Linked DNA regions of Homo sapiens: all the other regions are linked to region 2. Evidence: promoter capture Hi-C in 16 types of primary human blood cells and fetal thymus (Javierre and others, 2016). All regions are on one chromosome and are shown on one strand. The core of a region is centred on a gene start or on the middle of the fragment in contact, and the rest is flanking DNA. Distances in the headings are between cores, read along the strand shown. Region 1 overlaps PAMR1 (peptidase domain containing associated with muscle regeneration 1). Region 2 holds the start of ELF5 (E74 like ETS transcription factor 5). Region 3 overlaps SLC1A2 (solute carrier family 1 member 2).

What was found. The method cuts DNA at HindIII sites, captures the fragments that hold promoters and counts their contacts. A CHiCAGO score of 5 or more calls a contact.
Region 1: a fragment that was not itself captured here is called in contact with the fragment with the promoter of ELF5 in region 2 in 1 of 17 cell types (total CD4 T cells); the score reaches 6.3 in total CD4 T cells.
Region 3: a fragment that was not itself captured here is called in contact with the fragment with the promoter of ELF5 in region 2 in 1 of 17 cell types (total B cells); the score reaches 5.0 in total B cells.

The regions. Positions count from the first base shown.
Region 1 is chr11:35,485,057-35,489,670 of GRCh38, forward strand. All of the region lies in intron 3 of PAMR1 (peptidase domain containing associated with muscle regeneration 1), which reads right to left. Among named protein-coding and RNA genes, the nearest start is that of PAMR1, 38 kb to the right of the region's middle. RefSeq lists a silencer at 883-932. The HindIII fragment of the contact is 1,017 bases long and covers 2,534-3,550 here.
Region 2 is chr11:34,510,645-34,515,225 of GRCh38, forward strand. ELF5 (E74 like ETS transcription factor 5) reads right to left here and starts at 3,150. Exons shown (of 7, transcript NM_001422.4): 1 at 3,033-3,150. The HindIII fragment of the contact is 1,187 bases long and covers 2,721-3,907 here.
Region 3 is chr11:35,382,686-35,387,348 of GRCh38, forward strand. The region is part of intron 1 of SLC1A2 (solute carrier family 1 member 2); the gene reads right to left. Among named protein-coding and RNA genes, the nearest start is that of SLC1A2-AS2, 34 kb to the right of the region's middle. The HindIII fragment of the contact is 2,250 bases long and covers 210-2,459 here.

The sequences.
Region 1 (4,614 bases), core at 1,792-4,291, 970 kb after region 2:
AAACCAGGATGCAGGGAGAAATAGCTTGTTTCAAGACCTGGGCATAGAAAATCAAGGTGAACTTAAAACATTTGAGGGTCAGGGGTAGAATGCAAGTAAGTGCTCAAGGAGAAATGAGGTGCAGCCTGCTTAACGGGCCAAATCTGAAACAATCTAAGCATCAAAAGAAAAATTATGATAACACTATGAAACAGAAAAAAATTAAAATTCATGAGTCTTAAAGTGCAGAAAAAGAGAGAGAGAGCCAGATGTTGGAGAATGATAAAAAGTGGCAAATCCTGGAAAGGAGCATATGGATGTATACTATTCTTTCAACTCTCTGTAGAATTGAAGGTTTTACATTAAAGAGTGGAGAAAGGTAGAAAGAACAGCTCTTTTTTTAATGGCGATAAAGTGCCAGTAGCTCTTAGTCTGGATATTCTGAGATTACTAAACCAATCTTTCCTGGGCAGAAAGATGTGAATAAGTTCTCTCCTGGGCTCAATAGCCTCAGGCCGTTTGCCCATCCTCCTGGATAATACAACCTGCCAATGGTTATGCATGAATCAATTCCATAATGAATTTTAAGGTTGTCATTAGTTAGGTTAGTAATATAAACATTGTCAAGGACAGTGAGCAAATAAAGGTGCTACTGCATCTGTTCAGTGCCAGATGCTCTCTAACCCACATATAAAACAGCTCTGATCCTTCTGGCACTTGCCCGCCACTCCTCCCTCCTTCTAAGGCTCTGTATGGTACTCAGGAAAAAAAAATGCCCAGGCTCTTCAGAGACACTCAGAAGGAAGCGCCTTCAGGATAACGTTGTCTGAAAGGATCGCTTGGGCGCCATCTAGTGGGAAAATGCTTGCACTGCCATGGGGCTCCGGCGCTGTGTCCCAGCCATATGTAGGCGACCCTTAACGTAGGCAGGCAGCATAGTGCTCAGCACCAGGCAGGCATTCAACAAAGAGTGAAATGAATTACTTCTTCCTATGAATTCCCTACACATTTATTTAGTGCCAGTATGAGGTGAGGGTGATAAGAACCTAATAACATCATATTGATGTCTTCTTATGGTCAAGCACTGTTTTCACAGATGGATTGTAAACTCATTGCGGAATCATTGTGTTCCCTGGTGACCAGCCCAGTGCTCCATAAGAAATGCTCCATCAGTGCTCATGGCAGTGGTAACATACACTGTGTGGAATGAGGCTCTCAGAACAAGCATAACGTAATTGAACAAGCAAAACTGAACCAACACAGATCGGATAGAATCTGACCATTAGTTTGTTTTTTCAATTTCATAGCATTGACCACATTCTATTTTTTTAACTTTAAAAAAAATCTCCTCTCTAAAGCGCAAGCTCTAAGATGTCAGAGACCATGCCCGTCTGGCTTATCATTGTACATCCAGCACCTAGAAGCATCCATTCAAGAAATATCTTTTGACTGGATGGGTAGATTAATGCACGAAGGTGTGAGCTCTCTGTTCTGCCTGCCTAGGTGATAGACTGGTTGCTCTGAGCCAGTTCTGCTGTCCTTGAGAAAGCCTGGACCCTCAAATGGACACAATCACCAGCCCAATCAATGAGGCTCCATAAACAGCGTCTTACACCAAGGTGCAACCCAAGATTTGACCAGTAGGTGCTATTTAAAAAGACACATGCTCAGGATTTCTGAATATTAATATTTTCTGTTTCATAACATTTGGGTGACTGCTATCCTTGTTTTGTTACCATTTGCTGTATTGACTTCTTGCATGCAAATATTCTTTCCTTCCTGTCCCCTGCACCCTGAACAAACCCCCTTACTCACATGGAGCGACTGAAGTATTGTTTAGAAATATTTATCCACCCCTCTTCCTTTGGGATGGCATATACTTCCCTACTTCACTCATTGGGAACTTAGCCATGTGACTTCTTTTGGCCAGTGGAATATGGGTGAGTGTGATGTGCGCAGAGGCCTTATGTGCACCTGTGTGTTTGGCTTGACCTCTTGTGCTTCTGCGACCCACCCTGAGAAGAGCATCCCCTGATGGTTGCTGTCCCTTCTGCCTAAGCCCTGCAGCCTGGAGCACAACCAGCCCAGGTCAGCCCAGTTGAAATCAGTGGAATGCCTGCCAACTCACAGACCCATGAGAAAGAACAAACATTTGTCCTTTGAGATTGTTAGTTACCCAGAAAAAAAAAAAAAAAACTGAACACTTTATCACCACCATCCCTGAAAGCTTCAACTTAGAAACTCTACTCTCTGACCATAATACCCATTCCACCTATGTGTTCCATTACTTCATTACCACCAAGCCTGCTTTTCCACTTAAGACCTCCTGTCCCTATTGCCCCTCTACCAGGCTCTTTCTGATTTCATGTCCTTCCCAGCTGGGATCCTTGGTCAGTCATGTCTCAGCTTATTCTTGGATCAACAAAACAACTGGTTTTACTCCCTTCTGCTGCTGCACTTCCAGAGAGCATCAGCCAACGTCCTAACTGACTGCATCACCTCCCTAGGAACTCTGGCTTCGACTGGGTCCTCCGTCTCGCTTGGATATGCTTTAAGCTTAACACCAGCTGGTGCCTTTTCTTGTTCCTCAAGTGGCTGCCCCAAACCTTTGGTACTTTCAAGCCCCAACCTCACTTCTACTCATTCTCAGCAGATATTTCACTCCCTACTTCCCAGAGAAAACGGGAGAACTCACCAGCAGGAGGCAGACTAGGACTGTGGTTAAGAACAAGAGTAAGGGGTCTGGAATCGTCCTGGGCTTTACCCCAAAGTGTACGGCCTCAGGCAAGTTACTTCACAGCTCTGAGCCTCAGTTTCATTATCTATAAAATGGGAGTATGTATTTTCATAGGGTGATTGTACAGATGAAACAAGACATGGCACATAAAGTGCTCAGCACAGTTCCTACCATATAATTACTAACAAACAAGATATGCTACCTATAAATAATTCTTTTCCTCCTGTCTCAGCCTAGGACAGAAAAGGAAGCTCCCTCTCCTTTAACTCTCACTTTTGTTCTTGATCTCATAGGAAGTTCTTCTCCTTCAGGATAACATGGTCTTAACTTCTTCAGTTAGTCTTACTCTAATATGTAATATTTTTAATCTCTCCTACTGACACTTTACTCACATTAGCTTAAAACCTGTTTAACCCTTTCCCATCTTTTTTTTTTTTTTTTTTTTTTTTGAGAGAGAGACAGAGATGAGGTCTTGCTCTGTTGTTTAGGCTGGAATGCAGTGGTGTAATCATAGCTCACTGCAGCTTCAAAATCCTTGGCTGCAGAAGCGATTCTCCCTCCTCAGTCTCTTGAGTAGCCAGAACTACAGGCATGCACCACCATGCCTGGCTGAATTTTTTTAATATTGTGTAGAAACAGAATCTTGTTTTGTTGATCAGTCTGGCCTTGAACTCTTGTCCTCAAGTAACCTGACTGCCTCATCCTCCCAAAGTGCTGGGGTTACAGGTATGAGCCACTGCACCCGGCCTTTCCCATCTTAATTGGTATTTTTCCACAGCTGTTTATTTACTCATATAAACTATCACCTTAATTCTCCCCTTCCTTGCTTGATTAAGCTTATTTAAAAGAAAGTTGTCTGTATTCTTTTTGTCCATTTTTCACACTTCAAATCTTGCCTTTTTTTTTTTTTTTTTTTTTTTGGAAACTGTCTCACTCTGCCCAGGCTAGAGTGGCAGTGGCATAGCTAATTTTGTATTGTTTGTAGAGACAGGGTTTCACCATGTTGCTCAGGCTGGTCTCGAACTTCTGGGCTCAAGTAATCCACTGCCTTGGCCTCCCAAAGTGCTGGGCTTTCAGGCATGAGCCACTGCGCCCTGCCAAATTTTATATGAAACTGCTATTGCTCAGGTCACCAATCGCATGCTAGCCATCAAACACAAAAACCTCTTTACTGCCTTCATCCTATGTGACCTTTCTGCCTTTGAAACACTGCCCCCAGCTTCCAGAACCCTACTCCTTCCTGGTTCTCCTCCTATCTCTCTATCTTTTCCCATCTCCTTCCTGGTTTTCTCTTCCTTTCCTTTTACATCTGTTGCTATTTCCTCTGCCCATGGTGCTCTGTTCACCTCATGCTTCCATCTATAACAGCCATAGGCATATCTCAAGTCTCCAAAATTCTCTTGAGCTCCAGGCACTTATTTCCTACTGTCTGCAGAGTCTCTTATAGATGTCCAAATTCCAGCTTATCTCATGTGGAACTCACCTTCTTTCCCCCACCAAACCTCTTCCCTTTTATTACTCACTTAACAGCATCAACTTCTAGACAGTTAATCAAACTAAGAATTTGAAAGGCAAACTCTTGAGATTCCTTACCCCATTCTTCAGTGAGTCTTGAGTCCTGTCACTCCTTCCTTTAAGCTCTTCTCACTCTAGTCTCCCTTCTTCATCCCCTGAAGCGCTGCAATCGCACTCCTAATGGCTACCTTTGGATATGGTCTTCCTCCACTCCAGCGGAGTTATGCTACAAGAGTTATCTGTCAAATGGTACTCCCCAGATTAAACCATCCTTCATCTCAGAACCATGTCTAAGCTCTGAGCCCTGGAACACTATGCCCTTCATAGTCAGGGCTTGCCACCCCAAGACCATCACCTTGCTCTAATCATACCTCATGTCACAT
Region 2 (4,581 bases), core at 1,900-4,399:
TGCCCCCCTCTTTAGGGAACAAAGATGAGTTCTTGGGGATCAAAAAACTGAGTTATTAATTACAGTGTTTTATCATGCTCCAAAGGTCTACAGTAGATGTATAGTTTATCTCTGGTACTCACATTTCTGGTGGGGAGATGATTAAGAAAAAATGACCTAAAAAGTGTCCTTAGGAGAAGTGATAAAAAAAAGGTGGAGAAGCGCTGTGATAGATCCACCTAGTGTCAGCGCCAGTACAGACAGGGATCTGCTGGGAGGTCTCTTGGCCTGCTGTTCTGGACATACTTTTCATTTTGTGAGGGACTAGCTGGCTCATCATGGAAGGAGCCCTGGGCCTGGAGTTATGATTCTGCCTCTTGCCCCTCTCCAAATCTCAGTTCTTCAACTACTAAACAAGAACACAGATAAAACAGCCCCCAAGGTCTGCCCTAACTCTGTGACTTTCTGCAGACACCCACCTGATTGAGCCAACACATCCAAACCTGGGCACTCACACACATATGCATACACATTGATTATATTTGCATTTTTTTGGTCAAGCAAGTCCACCAAATTGGAGGAAAATCCAACCACTACACACAGACTGAACTTTTAGTGCTGAAAAAGCTCCCTGATTTCCTCTTCTCCCTTTTCTCCTGTGCCCACTGCCTTCTACCCCAGTTGGAGGTAGATACCTCAGGACAACTGGATATTCTTTGCCCAGCCTAGCTGGGTACCTTAAACACTCTGGACCCTCACTCACTGCCCACCGATAGATCCGTGGAAGCTGGAATCAGTTTCCCCCAAATGTAGTCATCATTCTAGCTGCCTAGTAAGTAGGAAAAGCTCAAGAATGATTAACACAAGGTGGTGGAATCAGGTGGGCTCACTTCACACATGAGAAAGTTGGCTGCAGGTACCTGTGGGAGTGAGGCAGAGATGGCATGGAAGCTGAGGTCCCCAGATGCCTCCAGTGGCTTCTGAACCCTTCTCAGAGCTGGCTCACACACCAAATGCACACAGAGAGGGTCCACCGAGTTGGAGGGACAGGCCTGTGGGCTTCTCAGTGTCACACAAATCAGAGGCAGCAATAACAGGTGTGGCTCCCATGGCCTGAGCAACCCGGCACCCCTGCTCAGCCTCCCAGAGAGAGGGGAAGGAGCAAACCACTCAGCCTTGGCCAGTTTGCCAGAGGAGGAAAATTCCTTCCTGACTCTGGTGGTGATCATCAACTTCACTCTGGGCATGTGACCAAAAATTGGCCCAATTAAGCATCTACACATTGGCTGTTTACGGGCCAAATCATCACTGGGCAGAACTAGGCCATAGGGTGCAAAATATAGAAAAAAGTGGCCAAGATTGGGCTTCCTCAACCCCACCCTCTGAGTGGTATCATTGGGAAGAAAATCGGTTTTCCTTCCTTAAAGCCTCAGTGATACCCAAATGTCCACTCCGTCCCAAGACTTGTGAGCAAGGGAGGGTCAATTTCCCAGCCCTTGGACCTCCCTAAGAAGGGGCCCACTGAGGAGAACCCAGTGGAGTATTTCAACACTTACTGCTAAAGAAAGATTGAGGGTTGGGTGCTTGAGGGTTTGTTCTTCTGAGAGGAACCCTAGCAACTGTGAGAACCAATTTGCTGACCTCTTGTCAAGTGATTCCTCATTTTTCTTTAGCTCGCTTAGGGAGTTTGCGTGTTTGTTTGTTTGTAGCTGTTTTTCTGAAGGTGCAGCGAAGATCCAAAAAGGTATGCCATGTAGTTTGCTGTAGGCTTCGATGCAAAGCTTACCAGTTTTGGATTACATATATCAGGGGTTAAATCCTACCTCTGCTGCTGCGAACGTGGGGCACATTTCTTACTACCCAGACTGCTGAAATTCTTAAGCTTTTTTTCATATAGATGTGGTATATAAATATTCATGCCCCTCTTCGAACTACGGTTTCCTCATCTCTAAAATGGGGATTTTTTTTTTTTTAAATCATGCAATCCGATATATGCAAAGGACGGGGCATAATACATATATTCAATCCTGTTTTAGAGGGAAAAATCAGCCATCAACAATGTATCTAAAAATTTGCCACTCTGGTGACTTCTGAAAAAGGGAGATGACCAAACTGAAAACTCCGGCCCGAGAATACCTTAGATTATGAAAAACAGTATTGCAGAGAACACGAAGACAACAGAATCAAGCGTTCACTCGGATGGGCAAACCACCCCTTTCCCTGGGTCTCTGGACTAGACTGAACCACAGAGCTGCCTCCCTAAGTCATCTAGCCTTTCTGGCCTCAGTTTCCTCATCTGTAACATGAAGCGATTGCACCTAGTGATGTCTGACACACTTTCGGGCGTACAAAAGGCATCCACACGCAGGCCCGGCTTCAGCCTGAGGAGGGAGCTTGTGCTACCTGTCGCTGTCAGCAGGGGGCAACCCCACAGAAACCCCACACACTGCAGAGTCTGACAAGGCCTGAGAACACAGTGGAAAAACGCTAACCATTGCTTTTCTGGAAGCATTCTCTTCTGGGGAGATGTCAGAGGGCAAATGGGTTTCTTTTAAAACTGTTTTGTACAAATTCCTGAAAATGCCCCAAACTATAATAAGGGAGTTCTCTGTATCGAGGGGGTGGGGGACAGTGGGCAGGCCGGTGGGGAAAGGAATTCAGTCAGGGGAGAAGGGTAGGTGGGGGGCTTTCCTTGAAGCTGAATATTTTTCTGAGTAAAATCCAGCTTCCCTTCCTAAAGAAGCTTTAGGGAGGATAGAGAACTGAGCGCCTGGGCGCGTTCTCTTAATTCCCCTTGGTTCAGCTAAGGGATCCAGAGGGAGTGGTGGCTGTGAGGAGGGCTGGTGGCCACACGGCCTGCGGAGGCAAGCAGGTCTCTCTGAGGCAAGCCGTCACATCCGTGTCAAACAGCTCCCGGAGGCCCTGGGACTGCACCCAGCGCAGGTGCCGGCCCTGGAGCTGGAGATGGACGAGCAGACCCAGGCCCCAGGCCGAGCCTCTGAGCCCTGACACCCCTTACGATTCATCCAAAAAAGCAAAGAAAAGGCGCTTACGTGAGGGCAGCGGTGGCTAGGTCCAAAGAGGAGGCTTTCAAGGCAAGAGAAGGCAGGCGCTCCCAGCACCAGCGTGCAGTGGAAATAAAGACACCTGTAGCCTTGTGATATAAGTGACACCTACAGACAGGTCCGTTTGGTTTTTCAGGTTTACGCACAGCCCCTTTGATGACGGTGACATACAGTGTGACACGGCTCCTTGGAGGGGGGGAAATGGTTCTCATATGCAGAAAGTTTACCTTTATCCTGCTTTTGTGCGCAGCTCACCCCTGCCCTGCAACCCCCCACTCCCAGCCCAGGGGACTCAGTAAACAAGCAGAAAATTCTTGTCCCTGGGAGCTGTGCGGGGATCGTGCGTTTGGTGAGGAATTTTCCTCTGTGCAAGCTGGAGGGGAAACACAGAGATTCCACCCTGGTGCCGGTCTGCGCTGCCTCTCTCCCAGGCTGGCTGAGCCCAGTGCTTTTGTAAGATCATGTCTTTCTCCGTTTTTCCCATGTGGTGAGAAGGAAGAGCATTATAGGCCCAGTGTTAAGACCTCAGGTTTTGCAGCTAGTTGCCTTTAGATTCAAATTCAGTGTCCATCATTTCCTAGCTGTGCTACCTAGAAAAATGTAGCTAACATCTCTGGGCTTCATGAGTGTAATGTAAGTGATGGGGCCTCTCCTCATGTGGATGCCAGCTCTCAGGTGTCTCGCTGAGAACTGCCCGCTTTTTAGTACTTCTTCGTGACAACAGAAACTCTGCCTAATTTAGGCTGCAAAGCACAGTGTCCCAGGTCATCTATGAGACAGGTATTTATAACCCTGTGCCTTTTTGCATTCTGCTTCTAGCCATCTTGGGCAGCCGAGATGTTGTATTCAAATGGCAGACTCCAAGCTTTAAAGCGAAAGCAAGGACTGGTTTGTTATGTTTTCTTGGGATCACCGGGCATGGTTACAAACACACAAATACAAATACGCATATAGTCTGCAGAAACAAAAGGCAGTTCGTGAGAGGATTCGGGGTGTCATCATGGAAAAATTGTTGAAGGAAGATAGGTGACTGCCTAGACCCCTATCTTGGCTGGGTAACCTGGACTTCTCTGGGCTTCATTTTTCCCCAGTGGCAAAAGGAGGAAGTGGGATTGAAATAGTGATTTTTTTCAAACTGTGACTTGAGGAACCCCAGGGGCTCCCTGGAGCCCTTACAAGGACTTTTGCGGGTGAGAGGATGGGAGTGGAGTAGAGTGGGTTAGGCTCTAGACCACCCCGTTCCTTCCTGACTCAATAAGAGCATCTCAGCTTTTATATAAATCTTCCGGGTAAGATTTCATTTGAACAAAAGAATCTGCCCTTAGAAAGGGTTTGCAAGTAACTGGATTACATGGTCTTTGGGCCTCTTTCAAGCTTTAAAATTCTGTACTTCTCTTCCTCTTTGGTTTCTAGGGGACTGTGCACTGTGATAGTCCCACACACTGTGTTTTCCATTGTTGGGCACTGGCCTATCTTGTCATTGATTTCTGAAATGTTACCAGTGTTTCTTTCTGAACATATACATTCTTCTCAGTGG
Region 3 (4,663 bases), core at 85-2,584, 870 kb after region 2:
CATGGGAGGCTGAGGCAGGAGAATCACTTGAACCCAGGAGGCAGAGGTTGCAGTGAGCTGCGATCACGCCACTGCACTCCAGCTTGGGCAACAGAGCGAGACTCAGTCTCAAAAAAAAAAAAAAGTCCTCCTAAAGGGTAGGTGAATGATCTAGATCATGCTTTAGACCTTTAAGGTATTATTGTTTCCAGCTCTCTAGGAGTGAAAAAAGCTTAAATGTTTCTTTTGAATCTGAATCTGAAAACTGATCCTGCTTTTCCTACCTGCACGCTCCAAAAGTTAAAAGCCTACACCATCTAAGAAAATTATCAGACATATAGAAAAAAATACATATGCAAAGATGTTCACAACAGTGTTATGACAGAGGAATTTTAGGCATGTCCAAGAGTAAGGGATCAGTTAAGTCAATTGTATAGTGTAGCCATGACTGGAAAACACTCAAACTGGTAGTGTATTAAAAGTTATGTCAAAAAAGAATATAGTGGGGAAACTCTGGCATAATCCTAAAAGAAAAAAGCATGCCTGAAAATACTATGTTAGTTTGACACAAATTTAAAGGACATAAACTAAAATGACAACAGTAATGGGACCTGGGTAAATTAATTTTGTTATGTTGTGTTGCCTTTTTTCTGCCTTTTTTGGTTGAAAGTATTTTTTGTTGTTGTTATTTTTATAATGGTTATTATGAAAGAAATAAGCCTAAGAAAATGCTATATGGCTTAAGGAGATAAAGATGTCATGGGATTATCAGAGAAAAGGAGAGTACAAGCAGAATGTGCCAGTGGGGAGCCCAACTCTGGAGCTGACTGCTTAGGTTTGGATTCTGGTTCTGCTCCTCACTAGCTATGTAACTAGGGCAAGTTACCCAGATTCTCTGTGTTTCAGTTTCCCTGTCTATAAAACAGGGATGGTAAGAATAGTTCCCACCTCATGGGGTTGTTCTGAAGATCACACAAGCTAACATACATGAAGCATTTAAAACAATGCCTGGCATAGAACAGGTTCTATATAAGTTGTTGCTATCATTATGGAATGAACCACCCAAGAGCAAATACCCTGTCTTTCTCATCTCTGTATTCCCAGCACCTCTCCAAGTGTCTGGCTTACAGTAGATGCTTGATCAATGTCATCTGGGTGGATTCTGGAGGGCAGTGCTGATATTTTGAGGAATGGCCACCATGATACCATCTCACTCAGTACATCTATGGTGTGACATCTCCCTCTAGATCCCTTCCATGGGGTTCTTCATGCTGAACGGATGGCAATTGTTCTACTCGCTTGTTTGGAGTACTGACAGTTAACAAGATAAAAGGGACAGAAACTGTACTGCCACAACACAGCAAAGTTTAGCAATGGCCTGCCATCGCCTCCTCTGTTCCAGCCAGGACTTTTTTGGTTGCTTGAAAGAGAAATACGTTCACCCTAGTGCAAATAAAAGAGGAGAGTATCATATTGCTAAGTATAGATATCTCATGGAATCCAAGAACAAGAAACAAAATAGTAATAGAAGCTGTCTTGTCACATGTAACTTAAACCGGTGAGTGGGTGATTCATCAACGAAGTCAGTGAGATCTGGAAATGACTTTTTTAATGATACCATAATTATATAAATATTTTAACTGAAAGTACAGATCCCATGTGGAATATGGAAGATGACTATTCTCATCCACGCAGGTTGCTCCTGGATTGTCTGAGTTCTGATTTCATCCTTTAATCCCATGAATCTTTAAAAAAGTAATGTACAAATAATGAATGTGACCCTACTCCTTCTTGAATAAGGAAGACCCACTCAGAGGCCATCTGCAAAGCATATGGCCATAATTCAAAATGACAAATACATGTTAGATTTAAGAATCCTTAATGAATCTCAAACAGTTGCAGCTTTAGGCTCAGTGGATTAGAAGATATTGATTCATCATTGAAGATTATTTGCTTGTTGAAGTTACCTATGCATTTCCACTGTGGCATATTCACCAGTATCCCAATTTCTGAATGTTCAGAAGATTCACTGGCTTTAGGGGAAAGGAGTATCATCACAGAAGTTTGGCCACTTATATGCTTGTTCTATTGGACAGTTACACAAAGACTTTGAACCATAGAATTTGGGAAATTTAGAAGGATTTTAGAAACCCAATAATCAACCCCTCTAAAGCCTAGAGAGGTGACAGTAAGTAAGATGCTAAGGCTGGGAAGCCCATGGTCTCAGAGTCTCAGTGCAAGATGGCTTCCCTACACAATTGTGTACCCAAAAAGTAACCATCTGCCTAAATATGACACCACTTGTAGAAAGGCAGTTGGTTAAATTTCCCAGATATATGTGGTTTATACAAAGATAAACTAAAGAAGTGATAAAAATGTATGCATATGCTGACAACATCATACTATATCTGGAGAATACAATTTCTAGAGGCCCCAGAGTGACCCAGTGAGACAGTGAAATAGAAATATTCAAAAATAAAAGCTTTCCCCTCACTGCATTCTAAATTGTCATTGAGAAAGGCCAGAAAATGTCCAAGCTCAAACCATCCCTGCCCTCCCCTCCTTTTTATGAATTAGGGTAACAGATGGCTTTTTCAGTACATAGAAGAGAGGTAACAGCTGTTGATAATCTATGACAAGCACATATCAGATGGTTTTTCCATTTCATCCTCATCACAACCCTGAAAGGGAAATATTATCTCCCTTTTACCAGGTGAGCAAACTGAGGCTCAGAGAAGTTAGGCAATTTCCCCAAGGTCACACAGCTAGTCTGTCTATTTCTAAAGCCTACAGGTTTTGTAGTGTTTTGCCTCCCATTCTCCCTAAACAGAAGAACCTGCAGAGGGGTCTGGGTAGCAGTCAAATGTTCTTTCTCAGAACACCTTACAGCGACATGGTTTGGGACCTGTAAGTTATCTCAGAATACCAATTCCACAATGAGCCAGGCCGGCCATCTGCTTTTCTGACTTGATCTTTCCCCAAGATGTGCTATATCAAAGACAGGGAGCTTGGTTTTATTTTTCTCTGATTGCTTGGATTCTCCTTAGCATCTTCTAACCAATCTTATATCATCATATATTATTATAATAGTATTTTTTTCTTGAGCCTGCAGGTTCTCTGGGTGAAACTATGTGTAGAATTTGGCTCATCAAAGTTAGAAGAATTTAGACAAAGGACACAGGAGCAAGGAACACAGTGAAGCTTTAAAAATAATGACAGTTGGCCCGGCGCGGTGGCTCAAGCCTGTAATCCCAGCACTTTAGGAGGCCAAGGCGGGTGGATCACGAGGTCAGGAGATCTAGACCATCCTGGCTAACATGGTGAAACCCCGTCTCTACTAAAATACAAAAAATTAGCCGGGCATGGTGGCGGATGCCTGTAGTCCCAGCTACTCAGGAGGCTGAGGCAGGAGAATGGGGTGAACCCGGGAGGCGGAGCTTGCAGTGAGCCGAGATGGCGCCACTGCACTCCAGCCTGGGCGACAGAGCAAGACTCCATCTCAAAAAAATAAAATAAATAAAATAAAATAAAATAAAAATAATGACAGTTTTCTTTTCTCTGAACCTTAACCATGTTCCCTGCTATATTTCTTTCACACTCTCAGGTTTGTTTTTTCCATGGAATATCTAAATTCTTAGGCCTATCTTGTCTTCTCTCATTCCTCACTCTTTTATTGTGCCAGAAAAAAAAAGATGTCATTTAAAATAAATATGGTTTCCAGATACCTGTAGACGTTGACACCCTCAGTCACTGCTGTAATGAAATTCAGGGATGTCAGTGTACATCAACAATCAACTGAAGAAAGGTGCCGATGAAAAGGCATCAATATGTTACTACTCAGATGGCTATTTCAAGCATCTTCTTTTGAAAGAAATCAAAAGAACATCAATTTTTATTTTTGAAAATTCAAAAAACCCATCAGTTTAAAAGGTTGTATTTTGAAATCATAACAAATTTCAGGTGATTCAACCTTCAAGCAATATTGATATATGGTTTAGGGATAAATCATTTTAAAAGCAATAGCTAACATACTAAGGGGCTTAATGTGTGTCAGGAACTTCTTCATATAGTTCCTATGCATTTATCCTCACAACCACCCCTAAATAATGTGGTCCTACTATTAAACCCATTTTACAAACATGGAAACTGGGACTTAGAAAGCTTAAATACATTCCTTAAAATTACCTTGTCTGAGAAGCTTGGTGACTAACCTGCAGTGCTTTTTCATTTTTAAAAAAGAACAAGGGGCAAAAATTTACATCTTTTTTCCCCCTTTTTTATTTGTTGTAGAGATGGAGTCTTGCTATGTTGCCCAGGCTGGTCTTGAACTTCTAGAATCAAGCAATCCTCTTGCCTCAGCCTCCCAAAGTGCTGGGATTACAGGTATCCACCACACCCAGTAATCTGCAAAAATAGACCTTCTGACTTTCCCATCTTCTGGCACCTCCCCTCACCCCCATTCTCCTGTAGAATTGGTATATGTACTTGATCCTGGTCAATCAATCACTGAAGATGGCTGCCTTAATGTGTGGGAGAGAATTACCTAAGAAGAAATGGGTCAAATCATTCTGGGGTGGGTGGGGGAAGAAATGCCAGTTCAAGATGCTGCTTCTAGAAAAGTGACTCAGAGAGGGGCCCAGCTTTTTATGCAATCCCAAAATGCCAGAAACGTGGGGTCTCTGGC